6 separate regions of the Homo sapiens genome follow, and all the other regions are linked to region 1. The links are contacts of gene promoters, found by promoter capture Hi-C in blood cells and fetal thymus (Javierre and others, 2016). All regions are on one chromosome and are shown on one strand. The core of a region is centred on a gene start or on the middle of the fragment in contact, and the rest is flanking DNA. Distances in the headings are between cores, read along the strand shown.

Region 1 (3,156 bases), core at 202-2,701:
AACGTCCAACTCAAATCCAGAATCTTCCTTTGATCTATCTTAACACATGCTTATTAGATGTCTCAAACTGCTAATTAAAAAAACAAAACTTTAAAAAATACTTTATTCATTTTTGCATTTCTGTCCCCAGGGACTAGGACAGTCCTTTGAATATGGTAAATATCCAATAAATACTTACTGATTTAATTATTTTTCACAACACATCATTAGCTTACAATTTTTATTACAATGAAAGTAAATCAATTTCCTAAAATTCTTCCCTTGCCCCATATCGAGGTGCAATTATTCAGTAATTAAAAAAATATAGCTCCAATAAATGCAGCTGGTCATAAAAATTATTTCAGTAATATCACAATCTACTAGAAGAACCAGGAACGAGTAGCTAATTTTCCAATTCCAGTTATCTATGTTACGGATTACGCTTTGTTATGACTGCAATTCCTTGGATTTCTCCCCTCTTCCGCCCCCGGGATCTTATCCAATTGATAAGGTTAAAATAATGGCTATTATCCTTCTGGCTTAAAAAGCCTAGTGCTCTTCGTTCCTTAAATCATTTCATGTGTAAATTCGGTGCTTAGGAAAGACTGTGATACAACATCTAAGAAGCTACATTTAGAGTTCAGTTTTAAAAAAATCGAGTTCTTGGCTGGGGAAGTGCCCAGGTGCAGGTTTGTTTTGTGGTGAGCGGTTCGCGGGGCCAGGTGCAAGACGCTCAGAAGTGTTTTTGGGTGTCGCTGGCCAACTATCTCCACATAAACTCCGTTTGTTTATTTGACAGCGTTACTGCAGAGGGGAGTTAGGTCCAGCGCCACTCAAACCAGATTTGTAGAGACTTAAAACTGCTTTGTCTGTTTTTTTTTTTTTAATCATAAAACCACCCAGTTGGATCCAAGGCAAATTTGTCACCTACTTCAGGGCCCCTCTGAGGGTCAGAAAGAATTATGAGCGCATTTGAACGCACGGCCCAAATAAAAGCAAACGCACGGAGACTTGCGGACTTGACAATTGTGAGAAATCTCTTAAAACTCGCCTGTGGAGCGGCGGGCGAAAGCCGCGGACGCCAGCAGTAGTCGAGGCCCCGGCGCGGACGGCAGGGAATGAAGTCGCCTGACTTTTCCTCAGGGTTTTGTTTTTCTGTCACGGAGGTACAAAAATAGCAAAGCAGGGGTGGGAAGTCTCCTGGCCGTGTTTTTTTTTTTCCCCCTCGCCAGGGATGGCACTGGGAAAGAGAAGGGAGGAAGCAGGAGCTGCACGGAACCCGTCCCGAGGGAGCCGAGGTAAACCCTGCACCAGAGTTAAGGGAGTCGTGCTCCTGCCACTTCCAGAACACTCCGAGCCGCTTCTGCAGGCCCCGCCCCCTGCCGGGGTTTCCCCGCCACCCGCTTCATTTGCATGGCGCTGCCCCTCCCCCGTTGCCATTGGCTAGCGCCGGGCCCCGCCCACTGCTCCCAGACCGCGGCAGGGTTCCGTCCCCCCGAGCCGCACGGAGCTGCGGGCAGCGGGCGGACTGTTAAACCGCGGCGGCGGCGGCGGCGGCGGCGGCGGCGGCGGCGGCGGCGGCGGCCGGGGCGGGAGCGGGGCGCGCTCTGGAGACGAGTCAGCGGCGCCCCGGGTGGGGGAGGCGGGCGGGCAGCTAGAGATCACCTCAGCAGCCCCCACCACGGCCGGACCGAAGGTGCGGCGGCGGAGGGGAGCCAGGGCGCCCCAGCAGGCGAGTGGCCGGCGTCTCAGCGGCGGGATGACGGGGGTGGGTCTTCCCTCTTGGGGACGGCGGCAGCGCGGGGAGGGGAGAAGACTGCCGGGTGGACTTGCGGGTCAGGCGACCGACCGGCAGCCCCTTCGCCCCCCGAATCCTCTGGGCTGCTGGACTCTGGTCTCGGCACGGGATCGCGCTCTAGGGCGGGGGTCTGACCGCAGCCAAATTTAAACGGCTAAACCTAACAGCCTTGGCAGCTGGGGAGGGAAGGGGTCTAGGGAGGGGTGGGGGCGGACCTGGACGCCGGTCACGTGGGGGGTGGGGCTTGGCAGACCTCCCTTTTGTTTTGGCTGGCGCGTGCGCAGAAGGCAGAACACGTGGTTTCCTGGACCCGCCTCTTGCCTCATCGGCTGAGCCTCACCCATTGGGGGTGTGGTGACGGCTCTTTTGAGGCGGCTCTGAGGCGGAGCCCACTGGATTTGATGAGACCCCTATTTTATTTATTTCACACTTTCTTTCAGGAAAACGTAGATTTGGGCTTTAGAGTTAGATGGGATAGAGCAGAATCTAGGGGATTTTTGAGGGACGGTGCTTCCAAGTTTGTGTCACCGGTGTGCTGAGGAAGGGACCGGTCTTGCTGGAAAAAGTCAGATTGCGTGGTGTTTGGTAGCAAGAAATACCAGGCGGTATCCTGGCCGTTTCAGAAACCACAGGAAAGGAAAGAGGCTGGCTTTGCAGTCGGGAGGGCAGGCACTGGATGGACGTTCTTGTAATGTTTTCTTACTCTGGGAGAGTCCGTTTTTGTTTGTTTTTTTGTTTGAACTGTGGTAAGCACATTCCGTTTTTGATTCCCCAAACTTCAGGACATTCATGTTCTGGCGAGGTTTAGGAGACAAACTTCCTTCGTCTTTAGCCAGTTTGCTTAACTTCATCTGAGTTTGGGTCAGTAATAATTTTAAATATTGCTGGATGGGGCAGGTTTGTTAGCCACAAAACCTAAGTGAAGTGAGCACTGCAGACAAAACTGGCAATTTCTGACTAGGAAAAAATGACTCTAAAAATAATTCAGTATTGAGAAAGAGGCTTAACAGTGAGTGGTCTCTGCCTTTCCCGTTCTTAATAACTAGCCATTTCTTTGGGTTAGTCACCTCTCTGATGTCAAACTTGTTTCGTTTTTGTAAAGTTTCATAATATGGTCTCTGTCTTAAGAGATTGTAAGAAAGAAGAAATGCCTTGTATTAGGAAAAGTGATTCCTAATCTCTACCAATTGCCAAGTAGTGTTATTTTTATAACAAAAGTGAATTTTTTAAAAGCCCACATGTTGGGGAAATATAAACAATGAATTAATCATGAAATAGAATATATTTGAGTATCTTTAAAATCTGTTGTAACCATTATCTTTGGTTCTCCCTCAGTTTCCACCTACTTAGATCAGTGTCAGCGTCTGCAACCATTTCCT
Region 2 (2,795 bases), core at 246-2,745, 1.8 Mb after region 1:
AACAGTCATTCAATACTTAACACTGAGTAGTACAATATTTGAAATATATCTATGATAGTGGCCTAAACAAGAGCAGCAAGGGACCAGACATATAGTTCTACCACTCAATAGAAATAAATTGTATATTTCCCCTTCATTAATACTGTCCAATTTTAAAATGAGAGATTACCTTTGCAAGGCAGCAACTATTGTTTCAGAATGTATTATATTGAAAATTTTTGCCACAAAGTTACCTACTAGACTACAGTACTTTAAAACACAGTTGTTCAAGTCATGGGCAAGGAAAACAAAATCAACAGGACAGATTATTGTCAGAAGCCATTCCTGTGGAGCATTCCTGCTATGCACATAGAATTGAAACTAAAAACAAAGAAACAACCTAATTGCACCTAGGGGGAGACACCTTGTACTTCAAGTGCTCATGACTAGGGGAGTACAGGAAACAGACAGGAATAATAACCTTAAGTATCCTCACAGAAAAAATGAACAGAGACAAAACAGTGTTGGCATTTTAAATCAGATACAAAATCCATTGTTCCTAGACACAAAGTAAGTTAATAATGTTCCACATTTATTTTTTTACCTCTGTACAGCTCCTTTAATAGTCTTTGATTTCAAAACTAAAATCCTCAGTGTTTTGTGTATCTTCAAAAGGCACATACACGTTTTTAAAAGGGGCCAAGTGGAACTTAGCATCACATTAGTCATAAGTCCTTGGTCAACTTGCTTCCAGTTCAAAACAAACCACATTTTTAATAAGCACCAAATACCAAACTACTGCCTTGATTCTCTAAAGCAAATTTTCCACAATGTTCCTAATTCAAGTATTCATCATACTGTGTAACTGAACTTGTCCAGATTTCTTATTATGTGAAGGTTAATGTGCTATTATTATAGGCAGTCCAAAAACAGTGAAATCCTTACAACTTTATAAATCCCTAAATTATCCTTGTTACAAAAAGAAGTCAAGAGGAAATATTCTGGGGTTACAGTATTTCCTCAAAGATAGTTTACTACTTCTGATCACTTTTTAAAATAAACAAAAATGCTATTAAACAAGAAGTTCCTTACTAAGAATAACTTTCTTTTTTTGTTTCGTTTTGTTTTTTGAGACAGTCTTGCTCTGTTGCCCAGGCTGGAATGCAATGGTGTAATCCCAGCTCACTGCAGCCTCCGCCTCCCAGGTTCAAACAATTCTCCTGCCTCAGCCACCCAAGTAGTTGGGGTTACAGGTATATGCCACCATGCCCAGCTAATTTTTTGTCTTTTTAGTAGAGATGGGGTTTCGTCATGTTGGCCAGGCTGGTCTTGAACTCCTGACCTCAGGTGATCTGCCTGCCTAGGCCTCCCAAAGTGATAGGATTATAGGCGTGAGCCACCGCACTTGGCCTATTTCTTAACATTTCTTAGTAGTCAGAACTAGCCATTATGTAGAAAGTTGGAAAAGGGGATGTCCACAGTAGAAATTTTTTATTTTATAGATGCCACCTAAATTGCTGGTTATATTGAAAAGACACTTTACCTCTGTGAATAAAACAAGTGTTTCCTTCTCACTCAATTTCTTGGATTGGGCCTAATTTATTTTTTATATTTCAAAAATCTTTCATTAATAATTATTCCATTAGGGTTTAGTAACTACAGACTCATTTACTAATGATTTACTATGATACCCTAAAAATAGAGAAAAAACCCTAGAATATGAGCGTATGCAAGTAAGTGCAATTTAATATATGAATTGCACAAAAATTTTAAACAAGTTTTAAAAATATCTCTAAAAGGAGGCTTAAAGTTAATTGCTGTAGCCTCCTGTCTTCCACAGAGAAGACAAAATTTTAAAAACATCAAACATACTCAAAAACAGGCAAGCTGGAAAGATAAACAACATGACAGGATTCCCAGTTTAAGTCAAATTCCTCAATAAAACAATAAATGCCCACGTGTTTAACCGGCCATTAATGGAATAAATCAGAATTTTTGTAAAGGTTTCAGAAATTCTGATAATAAGTAACATTAAATTATTACAGAAAAACACAAAACAAATTCAGCAGCTCTACAAATGCTTTCTAAGTAGATAACATGTTAAATGTGATGCCAGGATAGTCAATTTATGAGACACTGTTTTCTTCTTAAAACAATTAAGCTAGCAAATTTAACCCATTTTTCACCCTATCTACTCATCTCCAACTTTAGCCCTTTGAAACATGTCTGTATTTTAGCTTAAGAAAATTTTCATGCCACTTCCCAACCTACAGACAGCTCCACAGGTATCAAAAACCAAAGTGCAAATTCATGGAGTTTTACCATTCCATTACGGACAGTCTAAACAGCCACAGAACTGAAAAGCCTTGGCATACAGTGGTGAACACGATGAAGAAATAAAACATGTAGCTTATTTTTGGTCCTTTGTTCCTGTCCCCTTTTCCTTCACAGTCCATTTCAAAATATGTGCTTGATTTCAGCAATTCAGACCCAAGCCTGTCCAGTGGTCTGGTACCATTAGGAAATACTTGTCCATTGCCTCACAAAACCTAGTCCTGTACAACTCCGGAGACACCACTGTTGGCATTTTACCTGAGATTATGAAAGAGAAAAGGGGGAAAAAGCTGTTATATAATTGATTGGGCAACTGAAGTCAACTGACCATGTTCTTTCATATAAACTGCCATAAAGATACACATGCAGAAGCAGTCTGAGTGGGCAGGAAAGGTTATCTGTTGTGCCACATGCCATGGGACAAAGTCCTACCTGGTACGAGTTTCTGTTTAAAAAGACTAGCTCCTGCCTAGAGATGAGCG
Region 3 (2,877 bases), core at 184-2,683, 1.8 Mb after region 1:
AGGTAAGGGGGAAGGTCTAGTAAATTCTTCTTAGAAAGAACAGGACTGAATGATTAAAAAAGACTGTGTTTCACAAAAAGTGGTTTAGAGAGAAGAGAAACAAACAAAAAGAAAAAAACTATATTAAAAAAAAAAGTTTAAAGGGCCGGGTCCAGTAGCTCAGTACTTTGGGAGACAGAGGTGGGCAGATCACCTGAGGTCAGGAGTTCGAGAGCAGCCTGGCCAATATGGTGAAACCTCGTCTCTACTAAAAATACGAAAATTAGCCAGGTGTGGTGGCGCACACCTGCAGTCCCAGTTACTTGGGAAGCTGAGGCAGGAGAATCACTTGAATCTAGGAGGCAGAGGTTGCAATGAGCCAAGATCACACCACTACATTCCAGCCTGGGTGACAGAGGGAGACTCTGTCTCAAAAATAATAAAAATTAAAAAAATAAAAATAAATGTGAGAGCATGAACAAAGACCATAACATAAGAGGGATCCAAGCCCAATCAAGAAACTGATATAATCAGGTCTAAAGTAGAGAAAAAAGGGACCTTTTATATTTTACTGTCATGTAACATATCACATACTGTACTGTGAGCCCTAACTGTATCTTCCCAAAGATTATGAGCTCCTAAGAGTGATGACAGTTCCTTACAAATCTTATTCTACATCACAGGACACTTAAACAGGCACTAAATAAAAGTTTAAATACTGATTGAATAAATATGTAAGTCAGTTAATAAAATAAAAGGCCTTATTAACAAAAATGTCCACTTTTTGGATATACTTGTTCCATAACAAGGGCAGCATTTGATAGCCACATGGGTCAACCAGTGGAAGAAAAATAAACTTTCACAGCCAGCCTATATTCTTTCCAAATTTGAGTGCACCCCATAAAAAAAAGATCACATGAAAACTTGTACAAGTCACTGTAGTTCATCATCAGTGCTAGGACAATGCCATGTCCCAGCAAATCAACTACCAACCTCATATATAACCAGCAATATGTTTTTATAATTATTAAATCAGTGGATATAGCCACATATCTTTGAAAAAAGATAAACAAACAAGTGTTTCCAGAACAAGTAATTCAAACATTTATAAGTAACACTGGCTAGTGCTTTATCCACTCATCTACTATATCATAATGATTATATATTCTACAAATTACATTGTATCAAAAGACATCTCTTTTACTAAAATGAAATAAAATTTAGGATTGAAAAATCATGCATCAGATAAATATATTTAAATATGAAGCGAGCAACTAAGGAAAAATAACCCCCCTGCTAAGAGCCACTGGTTTTAATAATACTTACAAAGGAAATGGAATAGGATTATAGCTATTTCCTGGAAGCAAATTTGCAAAGATGGCTTTCATGGTTGACTTTTCCTTCACTTGGCTGTCTGTGGATCCCAGCAAATGCCCATCAAACACATCTAAAATGAAAAATAGTCTACTTATATATTAATATTCACAGAGAATAAGAAGTATAAACTGCTGACTTTGGTTCTTTTCCTTTCGGAATATGGACATATGTATACTATACCAATAACAGTTTAAAATTTCTGATCAAGGGAAAAGACCACTATGGGATAAAACAGGAAACAACAGTGAAGCATACACAGCATGGACTCCAAGGGACACTTGTTTTTTTTAAACATCTCTGAAGCACTGTGGCTATTACACCCGAGTTAAATAGCAATTTTAAAGTTAATTTCAAAGTTTATACTATAATTTAAGTAGTTACCACCTAAACAGAAAGCAAGGCATGAATCTGTTATTATGAAGCAAATATCTGTCCTTAGAGAAATGGCTGTAATTCATGTAAATCAATGATATATCTTTCAGTCTTAGATACAATGAAATATGGTAAAAGTGACTTAACCTCTACCTTCGGAACTGCTGGCTGTATCTAGCTCAGGGGGCCCTCCCACTGACTGTTCAGACATGACTTCAGGTGGCGTAGGCAATTGGAGATGAGTAGAACTGGTGGAGCTCTGGCTGGACAAAGTTGTTAAGAAGCGATCCTCTAAAGAAAAACACAATCTTAAATGAGTCATTTACATACATTAAGTCCATGTCTACCTAATATTTTTTAAATGCTCATTCATATGCCTACTTCCTAAAAGGTAGAATTTTTACTTTTTAAAAATCATCTAGGTCATATAGCTCATGTCATAGAAATGGACACAAAAATCCAGAAAGATTATATATGACTTGACTACAATCAAATCCTGGTAGCAGTACCGCAACTGTCAACCAAGACTGACTCCTATCCAACACGCTATCCATTATACCACAATGCCTACCTAAATATTAGTTTTTAGTTTAATAGAGAATGAAATTAGGACACTCTGAGAAAGACGGCATGCTTATTCTGGGAGAGAAAAAGCAATTATAATAGAAAAATGCCAAGAATTGTAAGTTGAGCTCCTGGTTCTACAGTCTATGTAAATTTCCCCACAAAGTTTCTATGATGACACCAAGTTATTCAATGAAATACTGTGAAAGACATCTTAGGTCTAGACAATATTTTAGTGACATTAAAAATGTAAATTAAACTTTATAAGATTTTTGCAATGAAACCTGGGGATTGACTTTGTAATAAGCAAAAAAAATTCAATTTACTTTTTTCTGTTTTTTCTTCCCCTAATAGCAGCCTTCTTTATATTTCATGTATTTCTATAACCTGATTTATCTTATTGCAATACACTATATGATAATCTTAATCTGATAGGATTACAAGTGCTCTACAGGAAGGAAAAGAAGTCTATGAACAACAGCATCGGAAAAACTGCTCAAACAGTTTAAAACAACTTATACAATAAGAAATTTCTTTAAATCCTACGGCAAGTGATCACCAGACTCAAGAACCAACCTTTTTCTC
Region 4 (3,215 bases), core at 447-2,946, 1.9 Mb after region 1:
CCACCGTACCCAGCCATCATCACTAGTTATACAATAGTTCTAGAGTCAAAATGATTTCAATAGATGCCATAAAATTTTTCATTTTATTATTTATACTCTCAGTTCTAAAAGCATAGGCCTAATAAAACCAAAAACCATTAAAGTTAAATGATAAGCAACTATAAAGACCATAAACCCAAATTTAAGAACTACCACACCAACTGAAAAAAGTGTTTGATTATCTTTTTCCTTTTTTATTGTCTGATCAAATTTAAAGTAAACAATAAAATGTTTGATTCTAATGGCAGCTTTTTCATCACTGCTGCCTACCAAGTAAAAAAAGTTTTAACTTTCCTCAAACAGCAGGAAAAAATGTTAGAAAAATCATCTTCTAATAAACTACTTTTTATTCCCACTGATGAAGAAAGACTATAAAATAAGCTTGCTACATTCTAATTGGCAGTAAACACTGAAAAGTACCTGCAGTGGTCTATACAGCGCATACTCATCTCTGAAAAGCTGGTCGTGATGACTAACACAATCCAGCCAACGTCCATCAACCATTGCTTGTCCAATTGCTATAGCTTGTGCCCTGAATCAAGACCCACAAAAATGAAAAGTTTTAAAAGTCAGTCAGAATAGTTAAGTACCAGATAAGACACAACCTTAAAATATTTTTTTTCAGTTCTAATCAGAGTTAGAATTTCAAATGGCCCTTGGATAAGTAAAGGACGAAACGAGAGAGTTAAAGCAAACTAAAAGATTCTTCCAGGTACTATAGTAAAGGAGAAGAAACTACTGGTAAGGCAGTCCCAACAAAACCTAATTTTAATAACAGCAAGCATTGACTGAGTATTCAATGCACGCACAACCCTATACTTAACAGATTTTAAAATGTTGAGAAAAGCTCCTACCTTCAAGGAGCTTAGTTTTAATAAGACAATACCAAATATTACAGATACAGCCATAAAATGTGTGTGTGTGTATATATATATATGAAATAGACACTTAATGACACCATACATTATATGGCATTTCACAATTTATAAAGCACTTCAGCCACTATTATTTCATCCCCCACAGTTTATTCACAGGACCACACAATTTTCCTCATGGTGAAGAAGTCTCAGAGATTGAATAATGTGACTAAAAGCACAAAGCTAAAAAATATATACAGCCAAAATTGCAACCAGGGCTTTACTGCTTAAAGCTATTTCTCTCTTTACTTCATTACGTACCTTTTTCTTCCCATGAGAGGAGGAGTAGCTAATCTGAGAAAATAGTAAAAGCTAGGGGATACATGTATTTGAAAAGCAGGACCTGTCTGTTACTCTTTTTTATAAATGATTTGTGAGGCAAGCTAGGACCCGACAGGCATAGCTTATGGATCAAATACTCAACACAGGTTACAACCTGTCTAGATTAGTGAACAGTAGCTGGGGAATTCTTTGGCCTTAGGTTCCAGCTACCTTCTCTAATCCTCCTTTGCTAGAGAGTTCTTCTGCTTTTAATAAGGTAAATTAAGATCCTATTTGGCTCCTTGTACTCCTTGCATCTGTTCTCTGCTGGTTAAAACTCAGATTGGAGGAGGGTTAAGTAATTAGCACCCTAAACCATCAATTACATAAAACAAAGAGCACCCTAACTCTACAAAGAAATCTGTAACTCTTACTATCTTCAAATATGTTTTCTCATTCAAAATAAACAAATAATATTGAAACCTTCTAAGATCAGAATACCTTGTGGCAATATGCCCATTTCGGATTAGCCAGTTGACTAATTCCTTTCCTACAATGCAGTTGGGATGCGTTCTCAACCAGTAGCGGTGATCCTGAAACTCCATTCCACTGCTGTGATGGCAGATTTTTTTCCACAGGTCTTTTAACTGCACACTGTCCTGCAATCACATTAACAGCAAGTAGTTACCCTTGAGAAAAATGCTATATACCTTTTCAGATGTTTTCCTGTGATTTTTAGACTCATAAAAGGAAACCTAACTTGGATTTCTTTATGGTAGCTAACTCACACAATTTAATACAAATGTCATATACGTGGGAACAGCTTGAACTCTGCTCATCTAATTCCAAACATAACTTTTTCTCTTGAAAACCAACTATTCCAAATACTTCTTTTTTCAGTCAATGGCACATATTATCAATCTCCTATTTATGTATTCTTCTTTGGAGATGGGGCAAGGCAGAGGGAGACAACAGTTAATCACACTAACCTAAGGTAACTGTTCCTAGAGGCTTTCACTCCACCAGATTCTCACTGTGTACCCAACTGACAGATGAGTTTTTTAAAAAGAAGAGCTTCAGTAAATTACTCCCTGCTCAAAAAAATTCTGAATGTTCCTCAGCAACTAAAGTTTCAAATCTACACCTGTAAGTACAGAATTCATTGCCTTCCACCAGGTAGTCCCAAATAACTTTCCTTTCTCATTGCCCCCAGACTCCTACTTAAACTCTCTCCCAATTAAAAAATCCTACTTCTGGCCATGGAAAATGTCATGCTTATTCTTACCTCTGTATCTTTCTTCACACCTTTAAATAAGATTCACCTTCCTCACTGCCTATCCAAAATGATTCCATCTCTCAAGGTCCAGTTCAAGTCCTTCAGTTTAAGCCTTTTTCTGATTCCCTCATTAGTAATGAGCTTTCTGTTTTTTTGAATTCTTACATGACATATAGTCATTTATTTATTTGACACTTTTTTATTATTAAAGTATTACTACTTCCACTATTAAGGATCTTCCCACTGATCTTATTTCTACCTTTTGTGGGTTTGCTGGTTTGTTTGTTGTCTTAGAGACAAGGTCTTGCTATGTTGCCCAGGCTGGAGTGCAGTGGCTATTCACAGCCATGATCACAGCACCCTACAGCCTCAAACCCCTGGCCTCAAGAGTCCTCTCACCCTAGCCTCCCAAGTAGCTGGGACTACACGTGCATGCCACCACACCTGGCTCTTATTTCTACTTTTGAATTATAAGCTTGAGGACACAGCCATACCTTCCATTTCTCTGAGTCACTCTTAGAATTGAACACAGTATTTTATGCACAGATAAATTCAATAAGCAACTGATTATTTCATATAAACATATAGTATTAAATGTCTGAAAAGTGTTACATGTGTATAACAAACATGCTTCAAAGCTTAAATAGCAATATGGGATCTAAGAGTTAAGCTCTCTTATTACATAGGTAACTGAATTCTGATTTTACCAGATAAAAGGGTAA
Region 5 (3,125 bases), core at 403-2,902, 1.8 Mb after region 1:
GATTTTTATTTTCCTGCTCACCCTTCTCAAACACAATCCTCAATTCCAGCAAACTGCTATCATCACAGGGCAGAGACTCAGGAGGGATGTCAGGATCCCAGGGGATGGAACCTCCACCGTACTGCTCTTGGACAGCCCCCTCATGCCCTCGTCCCTCAATCAGGGAATGGAATGAAGGGTTTTGCATTAATGTGGGAGGCATAGCAAATTCATCCATGAGAAAGGATATTTCTAGTTGAGAATGATAAGCAACACAGATCATAAATATTAGGATCTCCTTAACTCGAGCCAGCTCATAATCAGAGCCTCCTCTTAGCTTGATTGTACAGCCTAGGTGCTGTGGACAACCTTCAAAAAACATCAGTGTCTTGGTTTGTTCTACAAACAAAAACAAACAGAAAGTTAAGATGGTGGAGGTGGCAATCCAGAAGTACAAATAGAATTAATTCACTCTCTTAATATCTGTAAAAGAAAAACTCTTACATGAATAAGATCACAGTTGCCTATCCTCACTTACCCACTATTAATAGGTATTTCCTAGTAAGTAAACATTGTAGTAGTGATAAGTTAACTCTTTTCCTCAGGTCAATCTATGCTAAAGATCACTCACCATTAGGCAACTGAAATATCTGCATATAAAATTTGTGACAAGTGCCCAGGTGTGGTTTCGTAAGCAGCTGGTCCATTGACATCACTAAATCACCTTGGGTCATTCGACTGATTCGTTCCAAAACTTGCTACAAAACAGAAAAACATTGTATTACAAAACTAGAGAAGAATAAAAATCTTTGTAAATTTAATCTGGAAAAGTAATGGAAAAATTAAAAAATAACATTCACAAATTTCCTTTTTAATAAATATATGATGAATTTTTTTATTCTGGATTCTTCTACACTTAGTTGCTTAGTAATCAATATATGCCCACTGAAACCTTACTCATATTAATAACATTATAAAAATGCACTTAAGCATCATGGATTACCACAAGATAATGTGGGGAGAAAAACAACTTCCTAGAATTGGCCCCTGTTCTGCACAGGGTAAACTTTTCAAGGGAGAGAACGTCTTCTGCTTGAGCAATTCTCCAACAAAAATGAAGGATCAACAAATACCTAGTGATTAACTAATGTCCATTTCACTTTTGGTCTTGTAGACACCAATAAGTATTACATAATCAATTATACTTTCTTCCAGTTCCAGTCTGAAATTCTGAATCTTAATGAAATAGGTGCCATATCTTCTGTCCCACTTTCAATACAAATAGAACAGCAAAGAAAAAAAGATTCTTGTATACCTACCATACGTGCATATAAATTTAAAAGCTGTGATTTTTTTAAAATACAATAGAAAATTAAAAACACTCACTGACTTTACATTAATGACCAAAGTAATGCCATGTTCCAATAACATGTCCTGGGCAATCCGAGACACTGTTTTCTCAACAAGAACCAAGGTGGGTCGAACATCAACTATTCGCTGGACATAATTCTTCAAGAATTCCCTTTCCTAAGTAAGATAAATCAGAAATATTACACCTGGTAAAATGCAGTATCTGGACATATTAAAATATCATCAGAGTGAACAGGCAACCTACAGAATGGGAGAAAATTTTTGCAATCTACTCATCTGACAAAGGGCTAATATCCAGAATCTACAAAAAACTCAAACAAATTTACAAGAAAAAAACAAACAACCCCATCAAAAAGTGGGCGAAGCACATGAACAGACACTTCTCAAAAGAAGACATTTATGCACCCAACAGACACATGAAAAAATGCTCATCATCACTGGCCATCAGAGAAATGCAAATCAAAACCACAATGAGATACCATCTCACACCAGATAGAATGGCAATCATTAAAAAGTCAGGAAACAACATGTGCTGGAGAGGATGTGGAGAAATAGGAACACTTTTACACTGTTGGTGGGACTGTAAACTAGTTCAACATTGTGGAAGACAGTGTGGTGATTCCTCAGGGATCTAGAACTAGAAATACCATTTGACCCAGCCATCCCATTACTGGGTATATACCCAAAGGATTATAAATCATGCTGCTATAAAGACACATGCACAAGTATGTTTATTGCGGCACTATTCACAATAGCAAAGACTTGGAACCAACCCAAATGTCCAACAATGATAGACTGGATTAAGAAAATGTGGCACATACACACCATGGAATACTCTGCAGCCAGAGAAAAGGATGAGTTCATGTCCTTTGTAGGGACGTGGATGAAATTGTAAATCATCATTCTCAGTAAACTATCGCAAGGACAAAAAACCAAACACCACATGTTCTCACTCATACATGGGAATTGAACAATGAGAACACATGGACACAGGAAGGGGAACATCACACTCTGGGGACTGTTGTGGGGTGGGGGGAGGGGGGAGGAATAGCATTAGGAGATATACCTAATGCTAAATGACGAGTTAATGGGTACAGCACACCAGCACGGCACATGTATACATATGTAACTAACCTGCACATTGTGCACATGTACCCTAAAACTTAAAGTATACTACTACTAATAATAATAAAATAAAAAATAAAATAAAAATAAAAAAGAAAATGTGGCACATACACACCATGGAATACTCTGCAGCCATAAAAAAGGATGAGTTCATGTCCTTTGTAGGGACATGGATGAAGCTGGAAACCAACATTCTCAGCAAACTATCACAAGGACAAAAAACCAAACACCGCATGTTCTCACTCATAGGTGGGAATTCAACATTGAGAACACCTGGACACAGGAAGGGGAACATCATACACGGGGGCCTGTCATGGGGTGGGGGAGGGGGGAGGGATAGCATTAGGAGATATACCTAATGTAAATGACAAGTTAATGGGTGCAACACATGAACATGGCATATGTATACATATGTAACAAACCTGCACATTGTGCACATGTACCCTAGAACTTAAAGTGTAATAAAAAAAATATATATATATATATCAAGATAGCTTGACTATTATCAATCTTAGACTAAATTTTCTTCATCCACAAATAAGTCTGTAAGCAAATTAATGCAAACACAGTAAGAATCTCATTCATCATTCTAAACTTGATTATGCTGACAAGAGTTTCAGGAGAAATTCCATTCTCCAACTAACTTTCCT
Region 6 (2,933 bases), core at 281-2,780, 1.8 Mb after region 1:
AAGGCATAGGAAAAATAAGGGGTACTTTTTGGAGAAAGAGTCAGCCAAAGACAGGAGAGTGATGGATCAAGAGTAAAAAAGAACCATCGGAAATGGCAGCATATTCTCTTTCACTTGTCTGTCTTCTAAATTTAGAACAGTTGTTCTTTGAATTGAAGAAATGTGAAAGTATTTTGATAGTCAAAAAAAAAAAGGCAAAAAAGACCCTCCCACTTAATGTCCTTAAAATCAAAGTCTTTAAGGTGGGGCTATTCCTATATGCAGTATAGTCACTTATTTTTACAAACAGCCTTGAATCTACTATTTCAATGATATAGGGACAAAAATACATAAAGCATATGAAGTGTATTTGCTTTCAAGTAAAAAGCTTTTAGTGCCAGTTTCATTTGGAAAAAAGCGAATTATATTCTGGAATAGAATATATTAAACTATTTCTAACTTAAACCTCCACCTCAAAACTACAAATTCTGAGATGTAACAAAGTATTGTCAAAGAATAACGTAGAAGACATTTAGGGCTCAGATAAAGATGTTTGGGATTGAGCTCCCTTAGTCCCAGTGGTCCTTCCAGAGTTTCCTCTGCTCCAGATTAAAATGTGGAAATTTTAGAATTAAGTACTTCACAGCCCTCTAGTGGCCACTGCTCACCACTGCAATTTAAATTTGGATCATCTTGACTCCAGCAATCTCCCTGCAAATACCCTCTTCCTCCAACAGTATGAGCAGGGACAATTGTTGCAGCATCTTGCTAAGTGCCATATAAGAGCAGACAGTGTCCTAAAGGTGAGAATTCATCAAGTTAAAAATTTCCTCCACCCTGGCACACATATTTTTGTAAATCTGAAATTTTTTCAATGCAGCAAACAGCAAATGACAATCAGAGCAGGCCAAATTCAAGACAACTAACTCCAAGGATGCACTAAGGGACATTACTACAGCAATATTATCTCTTCATTGCTTTTATTTTTCAGTTTAACAAACCAAAAAAAAGATTTACAAAAAGAAAAAAATTCTTTCAATAGGTGAAAACATCAGAAACAATTCCTAGGCCAGCAACTACTCATTTACTCATATATCTCACTTTATGGCTTATCTGTTTCAAGACACTTCACTTCACTTAGCTCTCTACTTATTTTTCTTCTCTTTTGTTTTAGCCAAAGACATAAGAATACATGTTATAGAATATAAGTTTTCATTTATTTATTTATTTATTTGAGACGGGGTCTCACTCTGTCACCCATGCTAGAGTGCAGTGGTGTGAGCTTTGCTCACTGCAGCCTCCACATCCCGAGCTCAAGCGATCCTCCCACCTCGGCCTCCCAAGTAGCTGGACCTACAGGCATGTGCCATCACGCCTGGCTAATTTTTTGTATTTTTGGTGGAGACGGGGTTTTGCCATGTTGCCCAGACTGGTTTTGAACTCCTGAGCTCAGGCGATCCACCTGTCTCAGCCTCCCAAACTGCTAGGATTACAGGCATGAGCCACCGCGCCCAGCCAGAACATATTTTCTTTTGGGTATAAATTGGGGATGGGAACATTGTTCCTAATTTCATCATTAATAGAATTCTTTGTGTACTCTTTTCCTTTATGTACCTATAATGGACAAAAGTTGTAACTATTGCCTAGAGTAAGCATTTTCCCTGCATTTCAAATATGTTTTTTAGTTGACATGCCCTAGTTTATTCAACCACTCCCTCTTATTATATTAGGTATTTGTTTGTAGTGTTTTGCTACTACAAATAGTATATTACTTAACAATTCTAAAAATGTACCTACTTGTGAACATTTTAATTAAGTGAATGCCAAAAAGCTGATCAAACTTAGGGTATATTATTACAAAGTATTCTGGACAAGAAAACTACTTATATGTCCTAACACACACTTCCATGACCTAGAATAGTCTTAAATTGTAATAAACTTGCCCAAAACCAAGGTCCCATCCATCCCAGGATGATGAGGCTTGACCAAGCATCCTTTCTGGGAAATATTCTTTAATCTTTCAAATGACAATCTCTTAAATCAATCAAGTGATGTATTACATGGGATAATCTAACAGTGCTTATCACATATAAACACTTAATAAATGTCAACTACTCATGCCTGTAATCCCAGCACCTTGGGAGGCCGAGGCGGGCGAATCACAAGGTTAGGAATTCGAGACTAGTCTGGCCAACATGGTGAAACCCCATCTCTACTAAAAATACAAAAAATTAGCTGAGAGTAGTGGCGGGCACCTGTAATCCCAGCTGTTCGGGAGGCTGAGGCAGGAGAACTGCTTGAACCTGGGAGGTGGAGGTTGCAGTGAGCCGATATCACGCCACTGCACTCCAGCCCAGGTGACAGAGTGAGACTCCATCTCAATCAATCAATCAGTGTCAACTATTGAGATTTTCCATCTTGCATTTCTTCAACATTAGTGGTGAACCAAAAAGGAAACAAGTAAGGAAAGTTTGGAAGCAAAACTGACATCTTGTCCTACCCCATTATGAGTATGTCATATCACAACACACAGTGAGTGGCAAAAAACTAATACTTTGCAACCTATGATGACTCAGAGAGGCATCTCATCCAGTGAAAGTCCCCTAAATCAATTAAACTTTGAGCATTTCCTGAAAGGTACTGCAACCCTAACAAACAATGTTATGCCTGACCGCAATCTCTACAGATATACCATAAAAGCACTATAAGCTTGGTCATGTTGGGAGGAAAACATTTCATCTGTCAACTTAGATCTGAGTGGTCTAGGGCCTGCGAATTAGTTGAAAATACATTAACAGGAGAAAAGTTTATTCTCCATGCCTGAGGGAGCACTCTGTAAGGAGTCACTTCCCAAACAGCCAGTGGTAAGGGTTTATATACCAACTGAGGCTTCAGTGAGAAAGTATAAAAGGTTCTGATAAGACTCATTTACACAACTTTATTTTTTAACGTCA

What was found. Contacts are between HindIII fragments. The CHiCAGO score rates a contact against its expected background, and 5 or more counts as called.
Region 2: a fragment that was not itself captured here is called in contact with the fragment with the promoter of KANSL1L in region 1 in 3 of 17 cell types (M1 macrophages, naive CD4 T cells and M2 macrophages); the score reaches 5.4 in M1 macrophages.
Region 3: a contact is called between a fragment that was not itself captured here and the fragment with the promoter of KANSL1L in region 1, in 1 of 17 cell types (neutrophils). The highest score is 9.5, in neutrophils.
Region 4: a fragment that was not itself captured here is called in contact with the fragment with the promoter of KANSL1L in region 1 in 1 of 17 cell types (neutrophils); the score reaches 7.6 in neutrophils.
Region 5: a contact is called between a fragment that was not itself captured here and the fragment with the promoter of KANSL1L in region 1, in 2 of 17 cell types (naive B cells and neutrophils). The highest score is 8.6, in naive B cells.
Region 6: a fragment that was not itself captured here is called in contact with the fragment with the promoter of KANSL1L in region 1 in 1 of 17 cell types (M2 macrophages); the score reaches 6.9 in M2 macrophages.

The regions. Positions count from the first base shown.
Region 1 is chr2:210,169,704-210,172,859 of GRCh38, reverse strand. KANSL1L (KAT8 regulatory NSL complex subunit 1 like) reads left to right here and starts at 1,451. Exons shown (of 15, transcript NM_152519.4): 1 at 1,451-1,711. RefSeq lists enhancers at 522-1,155, 1,156-1,791, 2,185-2,364, 1,792-2,426 and silencers at 1,235-1,564, 1,685-1,994. The HindIII fragment of the contact is 7,802 bases long and covers 1-3,156 here.
Region 2 is chr2:208,354,966-208,357,760 of GRCh38, reverse strand. PIKFYVE (phosphoinositide kinase, FYVE-type zinc finger containing) reads right to left here. Exons shown (of 42, transcript NM_015040.4): 42 at 1-2,571. The coding sequence ends at 2,456. Among named protein-coding and RNA genes, the nearest start is that of PTH2R, 50 kb to the left of the region's middle. The HindIII fragment of the contact is 3,331 bases long and covers 1-2,795 here.
Region 3 is chr2:208,338,560-208,341,436 of GRCh38, reverse strand. PIKFYVE (phosphoinositide kinase, FYVE-type zinc finger containing) reads right to left here. Exons shown (of 42, transcript NM_015040.4): 29 at 2,869-2,877; 30 at 1,882-2,019; 31 at 1,306-1,426. Among named protein-coding and RNA genes, the nearest start is that of PTH2R, 67 kb to the left of the region's middle. The HindIII fragment of the contact is 7,637 bases long and covers 1-2,877 here.
Region 4 is chr2:208,299,598-208,302,812 of GRCh38, reverse strand. It overlaps PIKFYVE (phosphoinositide kinase, FYVE-type zinc finger containing), which reads right to left. Exons shown (of 42, transcript NM_015040.4): 9 at 1,719-1,876; 10 at 460-571. Among named protein-coding and RNA genes, the nearest start is that of PIKFYVE, 35 kb to the right of the region's middle. The HindIII fragment of the contact is 2,548 bases long and covers 423-2,970 here.
Region 5 is chr2:208,322,523-208,325,647 of GRCh38, reverse strand. It overlaps PIKFYVE (phosphoinositide kinase, FYVE-type zinc finger containing), which reads right to left. Exons shown (of 42, transcript NM_015040.4): 18 at 1,366-1,506; 19 at 611-737; 20 at 1-378. Among named protein-coding and RNA genes, the nearest start is that of PIKFYVE, 58 kb to the right of the region's middle. The HindIII fragment of the contact is 5,563 bases long and covers 1-3,125 here.
Region 6 is chr2:208,371,366-208,374,298 of GRCh38, reverse strand. It overlaps a transcript of PTH2R not described here. Among named protein-coding and RNA genes, the nearest start is that of PTH2R, 34 kb to the left of the region's middle. The HindIII fragment of the contact is 2,321 bases long and covers 370-2,690 here.